Linked DNA regions of Homo sapiens: all the other regions are linked to region 2. Evidence: promoter capture Hi-C in 16 types of primary human blood cells and fetal thymus (Javierre and others, 2016). All regions are on one chromosome and are shown on one strand. Each heading gives the region's core, a stretch centred on a gene start or on the middle of the fragment in contact. The rest is flanking DNA. Distances are from core to core; before and after follow the strand shown. Region 1 overlaps LTBR (lymphotoxin beta receptor). Region 2 holds the start of CDCA3 (cell division cycle associated 3). Region 3 overlaps CHD4 (chromodomain helicase DNA binding protein 4).

Region 1 (4,332 bases), core at 1,526-4,025, 460 kb before region 2:
AGAAAGAAGAGGGAGGGAGGGAGAGAGAAAAAAGGGTCTGGGGCCCTCATCATTGTTTGGGTCTCCATCTCTTTCCTGCAGGGAGAGGGACCCAATCCTGTAGCTGGAAGCTGGGAGCCTCCGAAGGCCCATCCATACTTCCCTGACTTGGTACAGCCACTGCTACCCATTTCTGGAGATGTTTCCCCAGTATCCACTGGGCTCCCCGCAGCCCCAGTTTTGGAGGCAGGGGTGCCGCAACAGCAGAGTCCTCTGGACCTGACCAGGGAGCCGCAGTTGGAACCCGGGGAGCAGAGCCAGGTGGCCCACGGTGAGCCTGGGGCAGGGAGAAGAGAGGAAGGATGGGGAGGGAGGGATGGCTGGCAGGGAGAGACTGTGGGCCAGATGAAATAAAAAGACCAAAACAGAGGCAGACAGAGACTCCGCTGCCAGTCAGTGTCACAACTAGAGAAGAGGGAAGAGACTGGAAAACCCAGAAGCAGAGAAATGAACACAGAAGCTCAATAAACCAGCAGCAAGCAGGAGAGGGGCGGGGCCAGGGGAAAGGCGAGAAGAAGGCAAGAATTCAAGAAGCAGCGGGCCTGAACTGGGGGCCTTCCTTCCTCAACACTCTGCCTCCCTTCCTACAGGTACCAATGGCATTCATGTCACCGGCGGGTCTATGACTATCACTGGCAACATCTACATCTACAATGGACCAGTACTGGGGGGACCACCGGGTCCTGGAGACCTCCCAGCTACCCCCGAACCTCCATACCCCATTCCCGAAGAGGGGGACCCTGGCCCTCCCGGGCTCTCTACACCCCACCAGGAAGATGGCAAGGCTTGGCACCTAGCGGAGACAGAGCACTGTGGTGCCACACCCTCTAACAGGGGCCCAAGGAACCAATTTATCACCCATGACTGACTGAGTCTGAGAAAAGGCAGAAGAAGGGGGGCACAAGGGCACCTTCTCCCTTGAGGCTGCCCTGCCCACGTGGGATTCACAGGGGCCTGAGTAGGGCCCGGGGAAGCAGAGCCCTAAGGGATTAAGGCTCAGACACCTCTGAGAGCAGGTGGGCACTGGCTGGGTACGGTGCCCTCCACAGGACTCTCCCTACTGCCTGAGCAAACCTGAGGCCTCCCGGCAGACCCACCCACCCCCTGGGGCTGCTCAGCCTCAGGCACGGACAGGGCACATGATACCAACTGCTGCCCACTACGGCACGCCGCACCGGAGCACGGCACCGAGGGAGCCGCCACACGGTCACCTGCAAGGACGTCACGGGCCCCTCTAAAGGATTCGTGGTGCTCATCCCCAAGCTTCAGAGACCCTTTGGGGTTCCACACTTCACGTGGACTGAGGTAGACCCTGCATGAAGATGAAATTATAGGGAGGACGCTCCTTCCCTCCCCTCCTAGAGGAGAGGAAAGGGAGTCATTAACAACTAGGGGGTTGGGTAGGATTCCTAGGTATGGGGAAGAGTTTTGGAAGGGGAGGAAAATGGCAAGTGTATTTATATTGTAACCACATGCAAATAAAAAGAATGGGACCTAGATAATTTATTTTCTTGGGATTTATACAGAAACACTATTCCATGGAGACAATCTCAAAGACAAAGGTCAAGACACTAAAATATAATCCCATAAAGATATTTCAGTGAGGAGCTGGTGAGTATAGTCCAGGTAATAACAGTCTCGTCAGTGATGGCTGACAACGTGCCAGGCAGTGTTCTCAATGCTTTACAGTACTAACTTACTTAATCTTCACAATAACTCCCTAAGGTAGATATGATTCCCATTTAACAAATGAGGAAACTGAGGCACAGAGCGGTAACTTTCCCAATTCAGCTGCAAATGACAAAGCTGGGATTTGCACCTAGTTCGTCTGGCTTTTAGAGGCCTCTTGGGGAAAAAAAAGCCTTCATATACCACGCCCTTCCAGAATTTCTTTGAACGGGTAGAATGGTCTGGCCTTCTCAAATAATCAGATCTCTTGCATGTTCCGCAGGTGTTACTTTTCAGTCAACTCTCAAACATCTAGCCACACGCGAAGTGAAAAATGTTCTCCAAGGTTGATTGAAGGGAAATGTGTGCAATTTTTTTTTTTTTTTTTGAGACAGGATCTAATTCTGTCACTCAGGCTGTTGTGCAGTGGCACTATTATGGCTCATGGCAACCTTGAACTCCTGGCTCAAGGGATCCGCCCACCTCAGCCTCCCAAGTAGCTGGGGCTATAGGTGTGTGCCACGACGCCCAGCTAATTTTTTGTATTTTTAGTAGAGATCAGGTCTCCCTGTGTTGCCCAGGCTGGTCTCGAACTCCTGGGCTCAAGCAATCCTCCTGCCTTGGCCTCTGAACATGCAGTGATTACAGGCGTGAGAGCCACCGTGCCTGACCTGAGGTGTGCACTTTAGACATAAAATGAGAGAGGCCAAGTTCACATTTTGTTGGTGAACAGAAATCTAGGCTGGCCTCCTTTTGGTTCAGAAAGAGTATTTATGATTTTTACTTTTTTGGTTTCTTTTTGTCTTCTTTTATTTTTACCCCCAAAAAGGACTTTAAATCTTCTCAAGCCCTCTTATTAGTAAATGTTTGCCCCTCCCTGCCCCTGAATTCTCTCCTGTGCTCGGTCGAGAGGATCTTAGCTTGCAGGATTGTTAGGGAGCTGCTGCCAGCCGGCTGCTCCTTCCATAAAAGGCCACTCTCATGGGTCTGATATGAGGAACTCTGTCGCTGGAGCTCATCAGGGTGGGGCGGCTGCAAAACACACACCTCAGAAGGCGTCTGATCCAATGGAGTGGATGGGTCATTTAAGGTTGACTGTGAAAATATCACATCCAACTTCCTTTTTTGAAAAGTAAATAATGGTGAGCTGTATCTTTAAATAAAGTTAAATCCTCCTGCCCCTGCAATATGCTGGGGCCAGACCTCATGAATTCTTAATAATTGTTCTAATGTGTTTAGATAAAAAACAAATTTTATACATTTTTTTCAACAAAATAAAAGGAGGAAAATATTTTGAAAGAAATGATGCTGAAGCACAGCCCTTTGTGACACCATTCAAATTTATAATTATACCTGCCTGTATTTTTTTAGAGACAGGGTCTTACTGTGTCGCCCTGGCTTGAGTGCAGTGGTATAATCGTGGCTCATATAGCCTCAGCTCCTAGACTCAAATGATCTTCCTACCTCAGCCTCCCACGTAGCTAGAGCTACAGATGCGTGCCACCACACCTGGCTAATTTTTTTTTAATTTCTTTTTTAAGAAGTGGGGTCTTGCTATGTTGTCCAGGCTGGTCTCAAACTCCTGGGATCAAGTGATCCTCCCACCTCAGCCTCCCAAAGAGCTGAGATTGCAGGCATGAGCCACTGCACCTGGGCTGCCTAAATTAATTTTCTAGGGCCGCCATAACAAAGTACTGCAGACTCGATAGCTTAAGCTGCAGAGATTTATCTTCTCACAGCTCTGGAGGCTGGAAGTCAGAGGTCAACGTGTTGGCAAGGTTGGTGTCCTCTGAGGCCTCTGTCCTTGGCCTGCTAATGGTGGCCTTCCTGCCACCTATGTCTTCACATGGTCTTGCCTTTGTGCATGAGTGTGTCCTAATCTTCTCTTAGTGGATTAGGGCCCATCCTGATGACCTCATTTTAACTTAGTCACCTCTTTAAAGCCCCTGTCTCCAAATAAGGCCCCATTCTGAGGTCCTGGGAGTTAGGGCTTCAGCACGTGGATTTTGGAGGGAGACACAGTTCCACCCACAGCATTACCCATGTCTATTTTGCCAGTGTGGAGTCAGTACAGGCTCCAGGACACATCCACAGAGCACAGGCCACGTAGAGGGGAGCTCCTGTCTACAAGGAAAAGCTGGCAGAAAACCAACAAAGACAGCCTCTTGATGGTGGTCTTCAAAAGATGCAACAGGATGCAATGGCAGTTGACAATGGGGTAACTGTTGGTTGTGAGAACCCTAATCCTCTACCACAGGGAGGAGAAAGCTAACACCAAGTCCAACCCACATCAACACGGGGGTGGGACACCCGTTAGGGGGCCAAGGCTGTAGTCCAGAAGAAAGGTGGATGGAACTGGGGACAGAGCAGTAGCACAGGGAGATGGGGGAGGATGGGGTAATTCAGAATTTCCCTTTTTGAGAGTGGCATCAACACAATGTCAAAGTAGGAGTTCTCCGGCTTCTCTCCTCCCCAACAGAATTTCAACTAGCAACAATCCTGTGGCAAGTTTACCACCCTGAATATCCCAGAACTTGGAGTGAAGCTTTGCATCCCCTGGGATGGCAGAGCCAAGAAAAACCATGAGGACGGTAAGGGGATGGCTGCTTTCTGACCACGCCACTC
Region 2 (4,646 bases), core at 734-3,233:
TGCACTTTCTCTTCCTTTACCTGTCGTAGTGTCAGGGTGCCAGGGGAGTTGTCATCCTGCAGGATGGTGAGGGGGGATCTCCCTAGTACCTTGCTGCTGTTTGGTTTCCATCTATTGCGCATAGAACCTGGGGTGGGTAAGGCGTTAAAGCAAGGACCCAAAACTAGGACTTACAGTTTATTCCTCCCACACTCACCCATGGACCTTATCCCAAAACATTATCCTAGTTTATCTTCCCTGCATCTTGCCTTAGATTCTGTACCTGAAGATCTGGGAGTCTCAGGGTCCCTTGAGGGCTTGTCGGAGCTCTGGCTGGCCACAGGGGTTTCTGTGGGCTGTCTTGCTTCCTCCTTGGAAAACACCTGTTTGGAGGGGAACTCAGTCTGGTTCCAAGGTGGCATCTGTTCCTCAACAGATAACTGGGTACCCAGAGGCAAGTCCAATTCAGAAGATAAAGGTGCCTCTGGGGGCAGAACAGGCTCTGGGGGAAGATTTGATTTAGAGTCTTCAGTTTCAAATACTTCACTCAGCTGTTTCACCAGTGGGCTTGGGGGGTCTAGAGGAAGAAAGTGAAGTGAACAGTGACCTTCTGATACACAACATTCAGCAAGGAGCAAAACATACAGAAACCCAGGACTCATGCCCAGGAGGGTGAGCAAGTGGGAAGAGAGAAATCAAGGAAATCAAGGTGAAAGGGAGCAATTTTTTTTTTTTTTGAGATGGGGCTTGCTCTGTCCCCCAGGCTGGAGTGCAGTGGCGTGATCACAGTTCACTGCAGCCTTGACCTTGTGGGCTCAAGCAATCCTCCCACTTCAGCCTCCTGAGTAGCTGGGATCACAGGCCCATGCCACCGTGCTTTTGTGTGTGTGTGTGTGTGTTATGTGTGTGTATTTTTTCTAGAGATGGGGTTTTGCCATGTTGCCTAGGCTGGTCTTGAACTCCTGGGCTCAAGCGATCTGACCACCCCGGCCTTCCAACGTGCTGGGATTACAGGCATGAGCCACCGCACCCAGGCTGGGAACAAAATATTGAGATAAGAGTGAGATGGGTCCGAAGCAGGAGGATAGAGGCCCCTTTAAGGAACCCTGAGAGAATGGCTTCATGGACCCTACCCAAGAATAATAGATGACAGCTTCATCAGCATTCCCTGGGCCCAACGCTTACCTCCACTGCTGGTCTTCATAGGTGTCCGTGCAATACCAAGAGTAGGAGAGCGGGGATCTGAGTCCTGGGCATGTTTAAGACCCTCCAGTTGCTCCCCTGCTGGTAGGCCTGGCTGTGGAGAGCTCTCCACCTGTCAAGACCATAGGCTAGAACAAGTCTGGGCCCTGACTCTTCTCTCCTCTCCTCCCCATATTCCAGGAAGGAATTGCCAAGGCCCTCAGATATCCAGCCTACCCCACACAGATTGAGATTGCAGAAAATAAGGCTAGGATAAGGGTGGGGTCATGACGGCTCTCTCAAAATCAGGTTAGGAAGAGACCCAAGAATTCAGACATTCTCTGCCTTTCCCACGCTGGCCCAGAGTACCTGGATGGGAGTGCGCAGGATGCCAGCACTAGGTGAACGGGGGTCCGCCACTCGAGCCAGATGCTTGTTGTGCGGCGGAGGCCGCGCTGGTGTGACTGGGACGCTCTTGGCTGAGCCCATCTCAACCAGGAGTTGCAGGGTGGGGGCAAGGGCCAGCCCGGGACGAGGAGGGAATGCCTGTGAGAAGTGACTCAGGTCTCAGCCCTTATCTCTTCCACGTCGGACCTTCAACCCTAAACCACCCTGTCTTCCCAGTTTCCAGTGAAGAAACTTCCTGGCGAGGGACCAGAGGCCTCTGCGGAGTTAATGACTGCTGCAGCTGACAAAATGGCTCGTTCTGGGCCTGCTGAGCCCTCTAACTTATTTATTAAATTATTCAAATCACTTACCGGGCCCCAATTCCACCTCTGGATGCACAACAGCTCGTGGCTCAACTCCCGAAGTTACCAGTTTCAAACTTCCCGCCACGCCCCCTGCCCTGACCCTATTGGCTGAGCCGACGTAGTTCCCATAGGCCCTCCACGTAAGACCCGCCTCGAGCCAAAGGAAGCTGTTGGTCTGGGAGAACGTCTATCATGGTGACTGTAGGTGTCAATGGACTGATGCTAGGCTTGCCCAGGGGTGACGCCTCCTTGATAAGGGTACTTCTGTTCAGTATCGGCCTGCGAGCCGTCCGTGGCAGGCTGAGGAGTGCCAGTCTTCGCTTTCGAGACGTCTAGTCTCAAGAACGAATTATTAAACAAAATAGAATCATGAGTGATTACACTATTATGCGCACATCCAGCTGGAGTTGTGATGGTTTTCCTGAGGCGAGCGATAGTAGCTTTATTGGTTGACAGCTGTATCAGTCACTCGACACAACCCCCTCAAGCTCCGCCTCACTGGATACCCCCTTTACAAATACCAAGACAACTGTCCCTCGACTTTCCGACCGGACAGGTCCCCAGGAAACTTTCTGGAATTGAGAGGCCTAAAACAACCGTCAGTTCCTGCTCTTCAATAGAAGGCACGCGAATGGACTCTAAGGGTCCCGGAGCCGGAGCAGCTGCGGAGCCGCAGCAGCTGCAACCCCGAAGCCCACCTAGCTGCTCTACGTGCGCTCCCGCCCTGGAGGAGTGGGATTGGTTCTTTCAACCATCAATTGCCTTAGGAGCGCTTCTCATTGGCGTCAGTCAAGCGCGGGGCAGGGGCGGAGCACCGGCAGGCAGGCTCCGTCCAACTGCCATTCTCGCGCGTCGTCTCCGCGGCGCATGCCCCTAACGAGTGGCGCTCATTGGACGGGAGGGGCAGGGGAGGGGACTGGGAACGGTGGGAGCCGCCGTGTGTGGAGAAGCTGCTGCCGGTGTCATGGCGGAGCTGAGTGAGGAGGCGCTGCTGTCAGTATTACCGACGATCCGGGTCCCTAAGGCTGGAGACCGGGTCCACAAAGACGAGTGCGCCTTCTCCTTCGACACGCCGGTAAGCCCATTCCCCACGCCCGCAACGAGCACGACTTCCTTCCATCGCCCTGGTCATTCCGCTGGGGCCTGCAAGGCTTGGGCTACCGCCTCCCTGCGATGCACCATGGGACTTGTAGTCTCCCACGCTCCACTCTGCCGTTGCCTTTCATTAACTGCGGCTGTCGTGTGACTACCGTCCCCGGAAGCCGCCGCGCTCACCTCTCCGGCTCCCCGCTTCGTGGAGCACTGTGGGCATTGTAGTCACTCACTGCCTTCGTTGCCGTTCTAAGCTAGGGGCGCAGCCCGACCGTCGGACTACATCCCCCAAGTGGACCCTTGAGAAAACCTGGCAGTCGGCCTTGTCTGCCGCGCACGGCTCTCCGGGTTTTGTAGTCTCGTGTAGGAGTGATGGGGACGACTCCCCACTGTTCTCGGCCGGGGTTGGAGTTGGGGGGTGGGGACCGCAGTTCCTAGGCGGTTAATAGTCTGGGAGTGGACTCTCAAGAAGTCCGATTCTGAGAAAGGCAGAGAGCCTCCACCCCGTGGTTAAAACAGACAGGGGGCGGGGAGGGGAGGAAAGAGGAGAGGAAAGCTCTAGTCGTTTCTCCTTTGAAGTGAGCAATGGCCGCAGCCCCCACCCTTCCCCCCGCCCCCCAGCCTATCACAGACAGCTGAGATAACCCCTTTTAAAGTATTCCTAGAGAGGTGGTTTCTTTCTCGGAGGATGCTAAGGCCTCTTTCCCATCCCGCTCCCACTCTTGGCTAGTTACACAAAGCCACCTCCCACACCATGCTTCACGTTTTGCAGGCTCCACCTGGTACCTCCCTTCCTGCAGTTCTGCCTTCCCTATGTCACCCTCAAGCGGAGGCCCTTTGGGGCCTGAACTGAGAAGGCAGCAGCTTGGTTGGGATCCGCCCCCCTCACCACCCCTCCCCTCAAGCTGCTGTGCCCTGCCCAGTGTATTCTGCCAGAACCAGCTCATGGCCTGAAAACTGCAAGTCAGAGTGGAAAGCCTTCATTACTGCATCACCAGTACTGAGTAGAACAGCATGATGTGAGGCCCAGTTCAGGATCATCACTGTGATTTGTGGTTTGCTTGGTTTGCTAGGCTTTGATCTGGGCCTCAGACAATGTGCTGCTTCTCTGAAGTCTGGCTTTGGCAGAGGTAAAAGAGCACTGCGCGGAGCAGAGCTCCGGGGTTCCCAATCCTTGGTGAAATCAGCATCTTTAATTTCCAACAGAGGAGTTTAATCACTTCAGAGCTCCCACATTCTTCCCAGGAGGGAAAGGTTTTTCTTAAATTACCAGCAGGTGGTAGAAGTCAGTGGGTCCCTCTTTACACTTTTATTCACTCCTGTCTCTCTCCTTAGTAACTGCTTTGAATAATCCAAAAAGGGTTTTTGTAATCTTCTGAAACTTTCCCTTTTTCACCCCAAGTCAAGAGATTTTCAGTGTGCCCTAGTTCTTTGCTAACCAACTTCCAGCATATTTGGTTACCTTCAAATTGGGCTCATGGTAGAAAGAGCTTAGTTGACCTCCCCGGTGAGAAATGCTCTATTTGTTCATGAACTTGCAGTACACACTGTTCCTAGGAAGTGGTACAGAGCAATCTATGGGACCAAGAACTACCTTAGACAGTGCACTATTTTTCATATCACAGCAGAGAAATGTTCAAG
Region 3 (4,877 bases), core at 460-2,959, 260 kb before region 2:
GCGGATCACTTGAGGTCAGGAGTTCTAGAGTATCCTGGCCAACATGGTGAAACCCCGTTTCTACTAAAACTATAAAAAAATTAGCCGGGCATGGTGGTGCATACCTGTAATCTCAGCTACTTGGGAGGCTGAGGCAGGAGAATTGCTTGAACCCAGGAAGTGGAGGTTGCAGTAGGCTGTGATCGCACCACTGAACTCCAGCCTGGGCAACAGAGCAAGACTCCGTATCAAAAAAAAAATATATAAGGCCAGGGGCAGTGGCTCACGCCTGTAATCCCAGCACTTTGGGAGGCAGAGGTGGGTGGATCACAAGGTCAGGAGATCGAGACCATCCTGGCTAACACAGTGAAACCCCATCTCTACTAAAAATACAAAAAAAATTAGCTGGGTGTGGAGGCAGGCACCTGTAGTCCCCAGCTACTCGGGAGGCTGAGGCAGAAGAATGGCATGAACCCGGGAGGCAGAGCTTGCAGTGAGCCAAGATCGCACCACTGCACTCCAGCCTGGGGGAGAGAGTGAGATTCCATCTCAAAATAAATAAATAAATACATACATACATACATACACAAGGAGGCCTGGTGTGGTGGCTAACACCTGTAATTCCAGCACTTTGGGAGGTCAAGGCAGGAGAACTGCTTAAGGCCAGGAGTTCAAGACCATCCTGGGCAACATAGCAAGACATCTCTAAAAACATTTAAAAAATTAACCAGGTGTGGTAGCACACATCTACTAGGGTCACTCTTCAGCCCAAGAGTTTAAGGTTGCACTCAGCTATGATTGTGCCACTGCACTCTAGCCTGGGTGACAGAGCAAGACCCTGTCTCTTTTTTTGTTGTTTTTTTTTTTCAAACACAGTCTGGCTCTGTCATCAGGCTGGAATGCAGTGGCGCAATCTCAGCTCATTGCAACCTCCGCCTCCTGGGTTCAAGCAATTCTCCTGCCTCAGCCTCCCGAACACCTGGGACTACAGGTGTGCTTCATCGTGCCTGGCTAATTTTTTTATTTTTAGTAGAAACGGGGTTTCACCGTGTTGGCCGGGCTGGTCTCAAACTCCTGGCCTCAAGTGATCTGCCTGCCTCGGCCTCCCAAAGTGCTGGGATTACAGATGTGAGCCACTGCACCTGGTAGAGACCCTGTCTCTTAAATAAAAACCAGAAAACACAAAGAGATAGATTACCTAGGATCTTCTGCCTTTTCTCTAGAGAGATGAGGTAGCATTCAAAATTTCATTTGTAAGGTTTAATAAAACACATAGGAGAAAATGACATTCTGGTAAAGAGCCAAAATAACTGTTGTGAGCATGATATTTGGTTGTAAGTTTTCTGACAACCAAGGCAAAGATGAAAATCTGATTAGTCATGTTATCAGCTTTGTTTTCAAAGGAAGAGGATCAATTCATCAACATAAGAATTTGCCTACAGATATTTTCCACTTGTCTCAAATACCACCTTGGTCTCAATGCCAATTTTCAGACCAATTACCAAGCACAGGATTGCCTTGGATTCATACTCACCCCCATTTCTTCTTCCCGTACCACATACTGGGCCACTTTGAATGAGCTCAAATATTCATTCATGCCCTGCAATTCTGTGTCTTCAGTCTCATCCTGGTTACGGTCTAGCAGCCGTTCAATGGCCTTATCATCGTAGTGGATAACACTGCTATCTTCTCCCTCTTTGTTGTCTCCTCCTATAAAAAATCAAGGGCCCACATCCCCAAAGTCAGTTTCAGCAGCTGCAGTGGAAAAAGCAAGTCCCACAAGACCCTTGGTATCAAAGATTCTCCCTAACCTTTAGAGAGGCCAAGCCCCACACCAAAACGTAAGTTCCTGACTACCTCACCTCCATCAGTGGCTTCATCCTTGAATAGTTCCTCAGTGCCAAATTTGAGGATATCATCAAGCTCCTGTTTGGACATAGATCCAGTCTTGGAGCCCAGCCCAGGCCGCACCACTAGATGCGTCAGCATCATTTTCTTCTTTGCCACCTGCGTGATGCGCTCCTCCACTGACGCACGGGTCACAAACCGGTAGATCATTACCTTTTTATTTTGCCCAATCCGGTGAGCTCTGCTAAAGGCCTGGAGTTGAACAGGAAATAAAGCCAGAAATTGTATTTTCCTGGTGCCACTCTTATCCTGACTTCCACATAATATTCTAAATTCAGTACAAGGCAAGGTCCACAGCCTACATTCATAGGAAACTTCCTTTTGCACCCCTGCCTCCAGACACCACCCTCTATTATCATGTTACCCAAAATAGGATCACAGCTAACCAAACTCTGGCTTACAATAAGGTAAACAACACAAAAAGAATCTGTTGTTTCTCACTTAAAAACCTAATTCCAGATGGTGGAGCCCTCATAGAGGCCACTATGCCTTTCTAGCATAACATGTTACTTATTAAGGCTGCCTGCTGCCTCTGCTCACCTGAATGTCATTATGGGGGTTCCAGTCAGAGTCATAGATAATAACTGTGTCAGCAGTGGCCAGATTGATTCCAAGGCCCCCAGCTCGAGTGGAAAGCAAGAAGCAGAACTGCTGAGCACCCGGTGCTAATAAAAGAACCAAAAACACCATTAGAAGTGTCTCCTAAATTCCAATTCATAAATGTAGTTTAAAAAATTAAGCCGGGGGCAGTGGCTCATGCCTGTAATCTCAGCACTTTGGGAGGCAGAGACAGGTGGATCATTTGACATCAGGAGTTCGAGACCAGCCTGGCCAACACGGTGAAACCCTGTCTCTACTAAAAATACAAAAATTAGCCAGGCGTGGTGGTATACACCTGTAATCCCAGCTACTCAGGAGACTGAGGCAGGAGAACCGCTTGAACCTGGTAGGCAGAGGTTGCAGTGAGCAGAGATTGCACCACTGCACTTTAGCCTGGGCAACAGAGCAAGAAACTCCATCTCAAAAAAAAAAAAAAATTTAGCTGGGAATGGTGGCACACGCCTGTAGTCCCAGCTACTCAGGAAGCTGAGGCAGGAGAATCACTTGAGCCCAAGAGTTCAAGGTTATAATGAGCTCTGACTGTGCTACTGCACTCCAGCCTGGGCAACAGAGCAAGACCCTAACTCTTATAGAAAAATGTCAGAATAGGCCAGGTGCAGTGACTCACACCTGTAACCCCAACACTTTGCGAGGCTGAGGTGGGCAGATCACCTGTGGTCAGGAGTTCGAGACTAAGCTGGCCAACGTGGTGAAACCCTGCCTACTAAAAATACAAAATTAGCCAGGTGTGGTGGCAGGCACCTGTAATCCCAGCTACTCGGGAGGCTGAGGCAAGAGAATAGCTTGAACCCGGGAGGCAGAAGTAAAAAAGAAAGAATGTCAGAATATAAAACCTCATTAGGCAAACACCACAGTAATAATCATTGTAATCAAGGTCCACTGACGAATACTAATATCGGTGTGAAAGTTTAAGGAGAAACAGGACACTGACATAGTCTCAAATATCTCCCTCAAGCTATTTATCAATCACAATGGGAACAATAGAAACTTTACACTGCAGAAACTCAGCAGGCACCACCTTAACCAGTGATCAAGTCATTACCAGTAAGGGGACATATGAACATCATGTCCGTCCCCCAGTATGATGAACTGAAAAGGACACATCATCGACTGGGCGTGGTGGCTCACGCCTGTAATCCCAGCACTTTGGGAAGCTGAGGCGGGTGGTTCACAAGGTCAGGAGATCGAGACCATCCTGGCCAACATGGTGAAACCCTGTCTCTACTAACAGTACAAAAATTAGCCGGGCGTGGTGGCGGGTGCCTGTAATCCCAGCTACTCGGGAGGCTGAGGCAGCAGAATGGCTTGAACCCGGGAGGCAGAGGTTGCAGTCAGCCAAAATCAGGCCACTGCACTCCAGCCTGGTGACAGAGCAAGACTTTGTCTCAAAAAAAAAAAAAAGAAAAGGACACATCATCACCTCTGTGGCATTCTTGCCCAGAATGTCTAATCTAATCAAGAGAAAACATCACACAAACCCAAACTTAAGAGACATTCTACAAAATAACTGAACAGTGCTTATCAAAAGTATCTATATTGACCAGGCACAGTGGCTCACACCTGTAATCCCAGCACTTTGGGAGGCCAAGGCGGGCGGATCACCTGAGGTCAGGAGTTCGAGACCAGCCTGGCCAACATGGTGAAACCCTGTCTCTACTAAAAATACAAAAATCTGGGCCCGTGGTGGCACACACCCGTAATCTCAGCTACTCAGGAGGCTGAGACAGGAGTATTGCTTGAACCCAGGAGGCATAGGTTGCAATGAGTCAAGATCGCGCCACTGCACTCCAATCTGGGCAACAGAGTGAGACTCCATCCCGAAGAAGAAAAAAAATCTGTATCATATAAGAAAATAAAGAAATGTCACAGATAGCAGGAAGCACAATAACTAAATGGAACACGGGACCTGGGATTGGATCCTGAAACAGAAAACAGACATCAAGAAAAATTGGTGACATTCATTGAAGTTCTGTCATTTATAGTACAATACCAATGTTAATTTTCTAGTTTTGATCATTGTACTGCAGTTACGTAAGTTATTATTAAGAGAAGCTAGCTAGTTGAACAGTATACATGAACTCTCTCTGCTGTTTTGCAACTTTTTTCTAAGTCTAAAATTAAAATAAAAAGTTTTTTTTTTTTAAACAAGGAGTAGTGATACTGAGCACAGTGGCTTATGCCTATAATCTCAATACTTTGGGAGGCCAAGGCAGGAGGATTGCTTGAGCCCAGAACTTTGTGATCAGCCTGGGCAACATGGCAAGACCCCATCTCTACAAAAAAATTTTTTTAGTTAGCTAGGTACAGTGGATCAAGCCTACAGCCCCAGCTAGTTGGGAGGCTGAAGCAGCAGGATCACTTGAGCCTGG

The links. The method cuts DNA at HindIII sites, captures the fragments that hold promoters and counts their contacts. A CHiCAGO score of 5 or more calls a contact.
Region 1: a fragment that was not itself captured here is called in contact with the fragment with the promoter of CDCA3 in region 2 in 1 of 17 cell types (monocytes); the score reaches 5.3 in monocytes.
Region 3: a contact is called between a fragment that was not itself captured here and the fragment with the promoter of CDCA3 in region 2, in 3 of 17 cell types (activated CD4 T cells, fetal thymus and non-activated CD4 T cells). The highest score is 6.0, in activated CD4 T cells.

The regions. Positions count from the first base shown.
Region 1 is chr12:6,390,031-6,394,362 of GRCh38, forward strand. It overlaps LTBR (lymphotoxin beta receptor), which reads left to right. Exons shown (of 10, transcript NM_002342.3): 9 at 82-310; 10 at 630-1,536. The coding sequence ends at 907. Among named protein-coding and RNA genes, the nearest start is that of LTBR, 8.0 kb to the left of the region's middle. RefSeq lists an enhancer at 631-1,443. The HindIII fragment of the contact is 2,950 bases long and covers 1,301-4,250 here.
Region 2 is chr12:6,849,303-6,853,948 of GRCh38, forward strand. CDCA3 (cell division cycle associated 3) reads right to left here and starts at 1,984. Exons shown (of 6, transcript NM_031299.7): 1 at 1,920-1,984; 2 at 1,531-1,707; 3 at 1,165-1,294; 4 at 263-556; 5 at 21-127. The coding sequence starts at 1,650. It overlaps USP5 (ubiquitin specific peptidase 5), which reads left to right and starts at 2,848. Exons shown (of 20, transcript NM_001098536.2): 1 at 2,848-2,988. The coding sequence starts at 2,878. RefSeq lists silencers at 1,990-2,039, 2,710-2,819, 3,790-3,839 and enhancers at 2,200-2,479, 2,486-3,446, 2,550-2,599, 2,870-3,509. The HindIII fragment of the contact is 8,619 bases long and covers 1-4,646 here.
Region 3 is chr12:6,585,871-6,590,747 of GRCh38, forward strand. CHD4 (chromodomain helicase DNA binding protein 4) reads right to left here. Exons shown (of 40, transcript NM_001273.5): 23 at 2,428-2,552; 24 at 1,842-2,079; 25 at 1,514-1,689. Among named protein-coding and RNA genes, the nearest start is that of CHD4, 19 kb to the right of the region's middle. The HindIII fragment of the contact is 7,516 bases long and covers 1-4,877 here.